Linked DNA regions of Homo sapiens: regions 2 and 3 are each linked to region 1. Evidence: promoter capture Hi-C in 16 types of primary human blood cells and fetal thymus (Javierre and others, 2016). All regions are on one chromosome and are shown on one strand. The core of a region is centred on a gene start or on the middle of the fragment in contact, and the rest is flanking DNA. Distances in the headings are between cores, read along the strand shown. Region 1 holds the start of PPP5C (protein phosphatase 5 catalytic subunit). Region 2 holds the start of MEIOSIN (meiosis initiator). Region 3 holds the start of DMWD (DM1 locus, WD repeat containing).

The links. The method cuts DNA at HindIII sites, captures the fragments that hold promoters and counts their contacts. A CHiCAGO score of 5 or more calls a contact.
Region 2: the fragment with the promoter of MEIOSIN here is called in contact with the fragment with the promoter of PPP5C in region 1 in 2 of 17 cell types (non-activated CD4 T cells and M1 macrophages); the score reaches 6.5 in non-activated CD4 T cells.
Region 3: a contact is called between the fragment with the promoter of DMWD here and the fragment with the promoter of PPP5C in region 1, in 2 of 17 cell types (M1 macrophages and erythroblasts). The highest score is 10.1, in M1 macrophages.

The regions. Positions count from the first base shown.
Region 1 is chr19:46,345,718-46,348,402 of GRCh38, reverse strand. PPP5C (protein phosphatase 5 catalytic subunit) reads right to left here and starts at 1,316. Exons shown (of 13, transcript NM_006247.4): 1 at 1,186-1,316. The coding sequence starts at 1,306. RefSeq lists enhancers at 1,069-1,198, 1,299-1,478. The HindIII fragment of the contact is 16,758 bases long and covers 1-2,685 here.
Region 2 is chr19:45,732,053-45,734,737 of GRCh38, reverse strand. It overlaps MEIOSIN (meiosis initiator), which reads right to left and starts at 1,299. Exons shown (of 15, transcript NM_001310124.2): 1 at 1,072-1,299. It also overlaps a transcript of FBXO46 not described here. The HindIII fragment of the contact is 2,985 bases long and covers 756-2,685 here.
Region 3 is chr19:45,791,535-45,794,219 of GRCh38, reverse strand. DMWD (DM1 locus, WD repeat containing) reads left to right here and starts at 1,375. Exons shown (of 5, transcript NM_004943.2): 1 at 1,375-1,904. The coding sequence starts at 1,464. RefSeq lists a silencer at 1,247-1,726. The HindIII fragment of the contact is 5,053 bases long and covers 118-2,685 here.

The DNA.
Region 1 (2,685 bases), core at 67-2,566:
GGCGGAGGTTGCAGTGAGCCGAGATTGCGCCATTGCACTCTAGCCTGGGCAAAAAGAGCAAAACTCCCGTCTCAAAAAAAAAAAAAAAAAAAAAATTCCAAACTGGTCTTTGTAATGACTCACGGAGACCCTGCATGATCTGGCCTCTGTCCTAATCTCATCTTGTTATTGGTCTCCCCCTAAGTAGCCAAAGCCCCAGCCATGCCAGTACCCTTTCATTCCCCATCCCAGGGCCTTTGCACAGGCTGCTTTACCTCCCTGGAACACTCCTCTCCAGTTCTCCCTCTGTGAGTTTCAGCTTAAACGCCTCCTGCTCAGTAAGGCCTTCCCCCACTACCCTATCTAAAGTAGCCTCCAACCCTTATTCTCTACTTCATCACACTGCTGGTTTGCTTTCAAAGCACTCATCACAATTTAAGTATTTTACTTATTTACATGGTTTTTTTTTGTTTTTTTTTTTTTCATGTCTGGTTCACCTGCAAAATTACAAGCTAAGGACAGGGCCACATCTGTCTCATTCACTGCTATATCCCCAAAGTCAAGCACAGTCCTTGGCACATAACAGGTACTCAATAAATATTTGTTGAATTAATGAATGAATGGGTGCCCCACACTTGACTCTCAATATTCTAAGTGATACTATTCTTAAGGATCCCCACCCTTACTCCCAAGGCCCCCACCATCACATTCCTTTTCCTCGGGTCAGCCCAAATCTCCTACTTCCTTGTTCCCCCCATCTAATGATCCATTCCCCACCCCCACGATTGCCTTCTCTATTGGGGCTGTGCCCCCTCTACCCCCCACTTGGCGGCACCCACCCCAGGACTCCCCATTTGGTAGCGCCATCAATCACTCCCCCACCACATGTCACTGCCTGGTAGCGCCCTCTACAGGCCTCACGTTTGGTAGCGCCCTCATTCCAGTCCCCCTCTCGCCCCACAATTGGTGGCGCCCTCCTCAGTCTCTCCACTGAGTAGCACCCGCTCCGCACGCCACTCCTAGGTATCACTCTCCGAAGCCCCCTATGTCGCTCCTTGGCAGCGCCATCCTGGGCCTCCCCACGCCCGGTCACTTGGTAGTGTCTGCCCCGCGCCCAGGCTGCAGCTCCGCGTTGCTATGGTTCCGCGCGGGCCCGGCACCCCTCAGCCTGGGCCACTGTCCACCCTCCCTGCCAGGCGGGCGCACCTTTGAAGTAGTCATTGGCCTGAGTCTTGAGCTCCTCTGCCCGCTTCAGAGCTCCATCAGCCGGGGGTTCGTCCCGGGGGGGCTCAGCACACTCAGTCCTCTCGCCCTCCGCCATCGCCATGCCGCAAAGCGACCCCTACCCTGGCAACGGCCGCCAGCGGCACCCGGCCGAACCGTCGCGAAGGAGCGCCGGGTGGCCGCCGCCGCTGCCGCACAAGTGTCGTAAAGCGCGGGCCCTGAAGGCGCCCTTCACGCGCCTGCGCAGGTCCCTTTCGCCACAGAGCGCGCGGAGGACAAGGTGACCAGAGGTTCCCCAGACGGTACCCCTGGTAGAGAGAGCCAATAGGGAATGAGAGAAGGGGCGCGCGGGGAAACAGACCTGGTGTGGCCTCTCCTCCCAAAGTTACCGTGTTCCAAGGCTGTAAAAAGTTTCTCGGTTCTGAAAGTGGGATTTCCCCGCTGTCCTCTAGGGTTGGGGGGTGGGTTGTGAATGTCGCTGGCGGGTGTGGCTGTTTTGCAAGGCAGCGCCATGCCCTACGCGGAGCCGGACCCGGGCGTCGAGCCCTATTGTCGACTACCTGTGTGACCTTGAACAAATCTTCCCTTCCTCTCTAGGGTCTCAGTTACCCATCTCTGAAAAATTAGTGGTTTCTCAAGCCAAAAAGGGTCCAACCTTGAGGGTCAGTGTTTGAGTTTTTAACTGAAGGCACTCTGGATTTCAAGTCCTGAGCAAGGCTTAGAAGTGTGTTGCACCATCTCCTTTCTTCCTGTGTTCAGCTTCCCAAATCCTGAATCTTCAAATAAACTCTCCTGTTTGTGTTTTTACAGATTCTCTTGTCTGAGATCACAGCATTGATTGCATGCACTCTGCCTCCCTCCAGTTTACCCTTCACATTTTTTTTTTTTTTTTTTTTTTTTTGAGAGGGAGTCTCCCTCTGTCGCCCAGGCTGGAGTGCAGTGGCGCCATCTAGGCTCACTGCAACCTCCGCCTCCCGGTTTAAGCGATTCTTCTGCCTCAGCCTCCCAAGTAGCTGGGATTACAGGCGCCCGCCACCATGCCCGGCTAATTTTTGTATTTTAGTAGAAACGGGTTTCACCACGTTGGCCAGGCTGGCCTCGAACTGCCGACCTCAAGCTATCCGCCCGCCTCGGCCTCCCAAAGTGCTGGGATTACAGGCGTGAGCCACCGTGCCCGGCCGAGGGATCTTTCTAAGACATGATAAAACCATGGCACACTCTCGCTCCCAGGCTTCCATGGCCCCAGCACCCTTAGGAGAAAACCCAAACTCCTGATTAGGAGACCCTGAATAGTCTTAACCTCAGGCTGAATAGTCTAATATCCAGATTCCACCCCTTTGCCAATCCCCACCCGCCGTACACGCTTCCAGTCTGTCCTTTCTAAGCCCTCATGTAGCACTAAGTCCTGTAAGGCTCTGGATCCCCTCCTGGAAGCACACTCCTAAACCTATCTATCCCACTCCCAAACCTCTTGTTAGTCCA
Region 2 (2,685 bases), core at 50-2,549, 610 kb after region 1:
ATCTCAGGAGTTTGAGACCAGCCTGGCAATATGACAAAACTCCACCTCTACAAAAAAAAAAAAAAAATTACCTGGGCATAGTGGCACATGCTTGTAGTCCCAGCTACTTGGGAGCCTGAGGTGGGGGGATGGTTTGAGCCCAGGAGGTCAAGGCTGCAGTGAGCTAAAATCGCACTACTGCACTCCAGCCTGGATGACAAAGTGAGACCTTGTCTCAAAAACAAAAAAAAAGGAGCCCTCCCAAACCTACAAACCCTAAATTCTAATACTGAGATACCCCAGACCCTCAAACTGTCAACTTCTGATCTTCAAATATGATCCTAATACTAAGATTACAGACTGCAAGCTGTAACACTATGAACCTATATCCTAAGATAAGAAATCCAGGCCCCTATGAAACAAATCTCACTTCTCCAGATTGACCTCTTAGACGTCCAAACTGTCCCTCAAATTGTGGCCCCAACCCTAAAACTGAGATCTCGAATGTGGGTCCTACTCTGAAACCCCAGACCCTAAAACTGGAGCTCCCATACTCAATGTGGGCACTCCAGGCCCTAAAACGTGCTTCTAAAGACTCAAACTGCGACTCCAGATCCTAAAGCTTCATACTCTACATTGGGATTTAGGCCCTAAATCTATACTGAGGCTTCAGTTGCCCCAAATCAGGCTCCAGACTCTCAAAATGTTACATCATAACTCAGAACTAAGACTTCCAGATCCCCAAATTGGGATCTCTGGATTCCAAGGAGAAAGCTTCCAGTCACAAAACTCAAGCTCTTCAGATTCCAGAACTAGTCACCCCTAGACACAAATCCCGAGATCCCAGATCAGAACTCGAGAGCCCGGATTCCCAACACAAACAGAGTCTTCCGTTCCTCAAACTCGAACCTGGACCCCCGGCTTCAAACCCAAACTCCGTCGCCCGTGGCCCTGCACCCAGAGCATGTTCTATTCCCCTGAGCCCCCCACCGAGGGAAGCTCCTGTGGGGATCCCGGGTTCCCCTAAGCCCAGCTAGTGCTGGGGGAGGCCCCCTGCCCCGCGCCCCATTCCCCTTGGCCTCCAGCACCCGCCTCAGGGCGTGCAAAATGGCGTGAGGCTGCCCCCGCCGTTCTGGTTTCTCCGGGCCCCACTCTAGGGAGCCCGATCAGACAGCGTCTCGCGCGGGTCCCGGGAAGCCGGCCGTGCGCGCGGGGATCCCAGACGGTCTCGGACACCACGTTCCCAACCGGGCTTGGGGTTGGGTGCGAATCCTCCCGGCGCGAGGATCCTGCGCGAGGCGTGAGGAGCAGAGCAAGAGTGCGTTCCTGAGGCCAGGCCACGCCCCTACCAGTTCCAGCCAAGATGTGCTGGGCACGAGACGACGGGGTTGAAAGGGCAGGGTGCAAGTGGCCGTGCGCACGCGCGCCTCGGGAAGGGCCCTGTCGTCTTGCACAGCGTGAGCTCGGCCTCGAGCCTTCTGACAAGGCCTTGGTCGGCGTGAGCCGCTAGGTGACCAATCAGCGCCCGCTCAGCCACCCGCCTTTTTAAGCGGTCACGCCCCTGCACGACCCGCGTGGTCCAGGGCCGTTGCATCCCAAGTAGGCTGGGTTTCCTCAACTGCCAACTCTCAGGAAGAGAGAGAGAGCGAGCTCGCCTGTGTCCCTTCTGGCCCTATGATGTCCCATTTCCACCTTTTCCCTTCAGTTCGTGATTCATGAGGGCCTCCTGTGTGCCAAGCACCAGGCTAGATGGTGGGAACTTAGCCACTGTCTTCCCAGTACAATCGAGAAGACCGTGAGAACCTCCGAGACCATGAGAATCCGGTGAGACGGGAACTCGGTTAATGCAGAGAACAATACGTTGGGAAAGGATTCAAAGAGGAGGGCCATTTGAATTGGGCCTTCTTGGGAGGACGAGGCGGGCGGATCACTTGAGGTCAGGAGTTCCAGACCAGCCTGGCCAACAATGGTGAAACCCCGTCTCGGCTAAAAATACAAAAATTAGCCGGGCATGGTGGGGCGCGCCTGTAGTCCCAACTACTCCAGAGGCTGAGGCAGGAGAATCATTTGAACCTGGGAGGTGGAGGTTGAATGAGCTGGTATCGCCACTGCACTCCAGCCTGGGCGACAGAGCAAGACTCTGTCTCAAAAAAAAAAAAAAAAAAAAAAAGGAAAAAAAAGAAAGAAAAAGAATAAAAGATTTGGGCTTTTTTTTTTTTTTTTTTTGGTAGAGACGAGGGTCTCACTTTGCTGCCTAGTTTGGTCTTAAACTCCTGGACTAAAGCCAGTCTCCCGGCTGAGATTATAAGCATGAGCCACCGCACCCAGCCTGGAAAATACGTCTTAAGGGGAGATGATCTAACGACCTAGTCAAGAGTAGAAACCCTGAAATCCAATACATTTCAGTTCAAATCGTTTTCTTGGCTGTGTTGCCAGCGACAAGAGGCTTAATCTCTTTCTGCCTTATAAATTTGGGATTGTAATTCCTACCAGGGTTGTCTGTAGGGTGTCTGGCATATAGTTCCGATGCAATAAATATTTACTGAACACATGTTTACGCTGTTCTAGGTGCTTGAACAAGGTACACAAAGATCTCTGCCCTCCTGGAGCTTCTTCTTCTTCTTCTTCTTTTTTTTTTTTTTGAGACGGAATCTCGCTCTGTCCCCCAGGCTGGAGTGCAGTGGCGCGATCTCGGCTCACTGCAAG
Region 3 (2,685 bases), core at 126-2,625, 550 kb after region 1:
ATAAAACCTCTCTACATGCCAAGTGAAAGGTGGAAGTGGGGGTGAGACAGAAATCTGGGAGACCAAGAGACACGGTTGATGTGGGGGTGGGGGAAGGGCTTGGGTAGAGGAGAAGCTTGGATCAGGGAGAACAAGGAACTGAGAAAGAGGAATTCCACGTGGTCGAATGCAAAAGACTTGGAGGCTGTAAGCGGGGGCAGAGTGAAGATAAATGGTACACATCTAGGAAGACACCCAGGTCTGTGGCCTGGTTGACTGAGTGGACGGCAGAGCTAGCCCTAAGGTGGGGATGCAAGAGAGGTGGAGGATTTGGTGTAAGACGTCAATTTCATTGTAGGATTCTTTTTTCTTTCTTTTTTTTTTTTTTTTAGAGAGACTGAGTCTGACTCTGTCCCCCAGGCTTTAGTGCAGTGATGTGAATTCATAGCAGTCTTGATCTCCTGGGCTCAAACGATCCTCCCACCTCAGCCTCCCAAAGTGCTGGGATTCTCGGATTCCAGGCATGAGCCACCATGCCCGAACCATTGTAGGATTTTTTTTTTTAAGTGTGAGATGCCCTTGGGACACTCTAGGGAGAAATCGTAGAGGCCATTGACTACATGAGACTAGAAAGATCTATGATGGGGCTGGGTGGCTTCAGCAGACATGGGGAGCACTGGCTATGAGTAGGAGCTGTTGGGATCAGGGGGAGACTTTGGGTTACGAGTGGATCACTGGGACACTGGGGCACCGTGGGGATCAATACAATTTGGGAATCAGAGGTAGGTTTTGGAGGACAAGTGAGGTTGTTGAAAATAAGAAAATCATGGAAATATACATTGGAGGTTGGTGGAAAATATGAAGGATGTTTGGAGTTAGCATTAATCAATAGTGGGTCAGAGGAAGTCCTCTGAGTTGTGTGGGGACACAGGGATTTGGTGGGTCACCAAGGGTGGGGAAGAATGGTAGCAGATGCTGTGGTCATTCAGGGATTTGAATATGTCAGTGGGAAACACTGGAGGTCAGGGGAGTGTATATTGGGCGTCTAAGGAGAGACCAGGGTCACTTGGGGTTGGCTGTGACTTCATGGGAAGGCTGGACTATGGATGAGGGCTTCTTTGTCGTGGGGGAAAAAAAAAAAAAAATCCCTCCGTTGCTAGGCAAACGTTCCCAGGGCGCGGTTGCTAAGGACTTGAGCTTTCTAACTGGCCACGCCTCTTTCCATTGCGGGCTCCGCCCCCGCAGCCAACCACAAGTCGGTCACAGGCTCAAAGGCCGCGCCCACCTTCTCGCCCCGCCCACAGTCCCAGCACCGTTACCCGAGCGACCGCGGGGATTCGTCCCGCCTCCGGATCTGGGTGCCAATCGAAGAGGCGTTGCCCGGGCGACGACCCCACCTTTTCCGGCGCGGGCCAGCGGCTTCCGGGAGGGGGCCCGGCTGCGGGCGGCAGTCCGGCAGTGGCGGGGCCCGGGGGGCGCCCAAGATGGCGGCGGGCGGCGCGGAGGGCGGCTCGGGCCCCGGCGCCGCCATGGGGGACTGCGCGGAGATTAAGTCGCAATTCCGCACGCGCGAGGGTTTCTACAAGCTACTCCCGGGCGACGGCGCCGCTCGCAGGTCGGGTCCGGCTTCCGCCCAGACTCCGGTGCCGCCTCAGCCACCGCAGCCCCCGCCCGGCCCTGCCTCCGCCTCCGGTCCCGGCGCTGCAGGCCCCGCGTCGTCCCCGCCGCCCGCAGGCCCCGGACCCGGGCCCGCCCTGCCCGCCGTGCGCCTCAGCCTCGTGCGCCTCGGGGAGCCGGACAGCGCCGGGGCCGGGGAGCCGCCCGCCACGCCCGCGGGGCTGGGCTCGGGGGGAGACCGCGTCTGCTTCAACTTGGGCCGTGAGCTCTATTTCTACCCAGGCTGCTGTCGTCGTGGGAGCCAACGGGTGAGCGGCCTGCATCGTGGGGCCCTGGGTGCTGAAAGGATGGAGGTTCCAGAGAACTGATAGGAGGGTCCCCGAATTGATATGGGGCCCTGAGATAGGCATTCTAAATGTGATGGACGTTGTAGGGCGACAGCATTGGAGGGAGTACAGGATTCTGAAATGTGATGAGAGGCCCGCGGGGTGCTGGGCAGGCATCTTGGAGGTGATGGGGGAAATCCCCTTTACCCCCGTTATGCGTAGGAGTTCTGGGATGGTGACTATTGGACATGATGGGGTATCTGAGATGAGGTGGGATCCCCCGGGTTCTGGGGTGGCAGGCATTCTGCAGGTAATGGGGAATCATGAGGTGATGCAAGCCCAGAGGTGATGGAGAACCCAGTATTGCAGCCTGGAGGTGTGGGAGAGGGGTCTTGAGATTGAGCCCAGGAATGAGGAGAAGTCTAGAAGTGATGGGGGCCTTGAAGGTGATAGGGGATCCAGAAGCTGAATGGGATTCTAGAGAAAATTGGGGTCTGGAAGTCATGAGGGTCCTGGAGGAGATGAGCGTCCGGAAGCTGATGGGAGCTCTCAAGGGAATGAGAGGCCCTGGCAGGGGAATCTGCAGGTGTGATTCAGGACATCTCTAAAGCGATGTGGTGAGAACCCTGGCCGTTTATGGTGATCCCAGAAATGATGGGGATCCTTCGGAGCCCCTAGGTAATAAATGGGCCTAAAATGTGGGAGACCGTGAGGTTTGACGGGTCCCAGAACTGTGGCGGTTTAGGGACTACAAAGTGAAGAG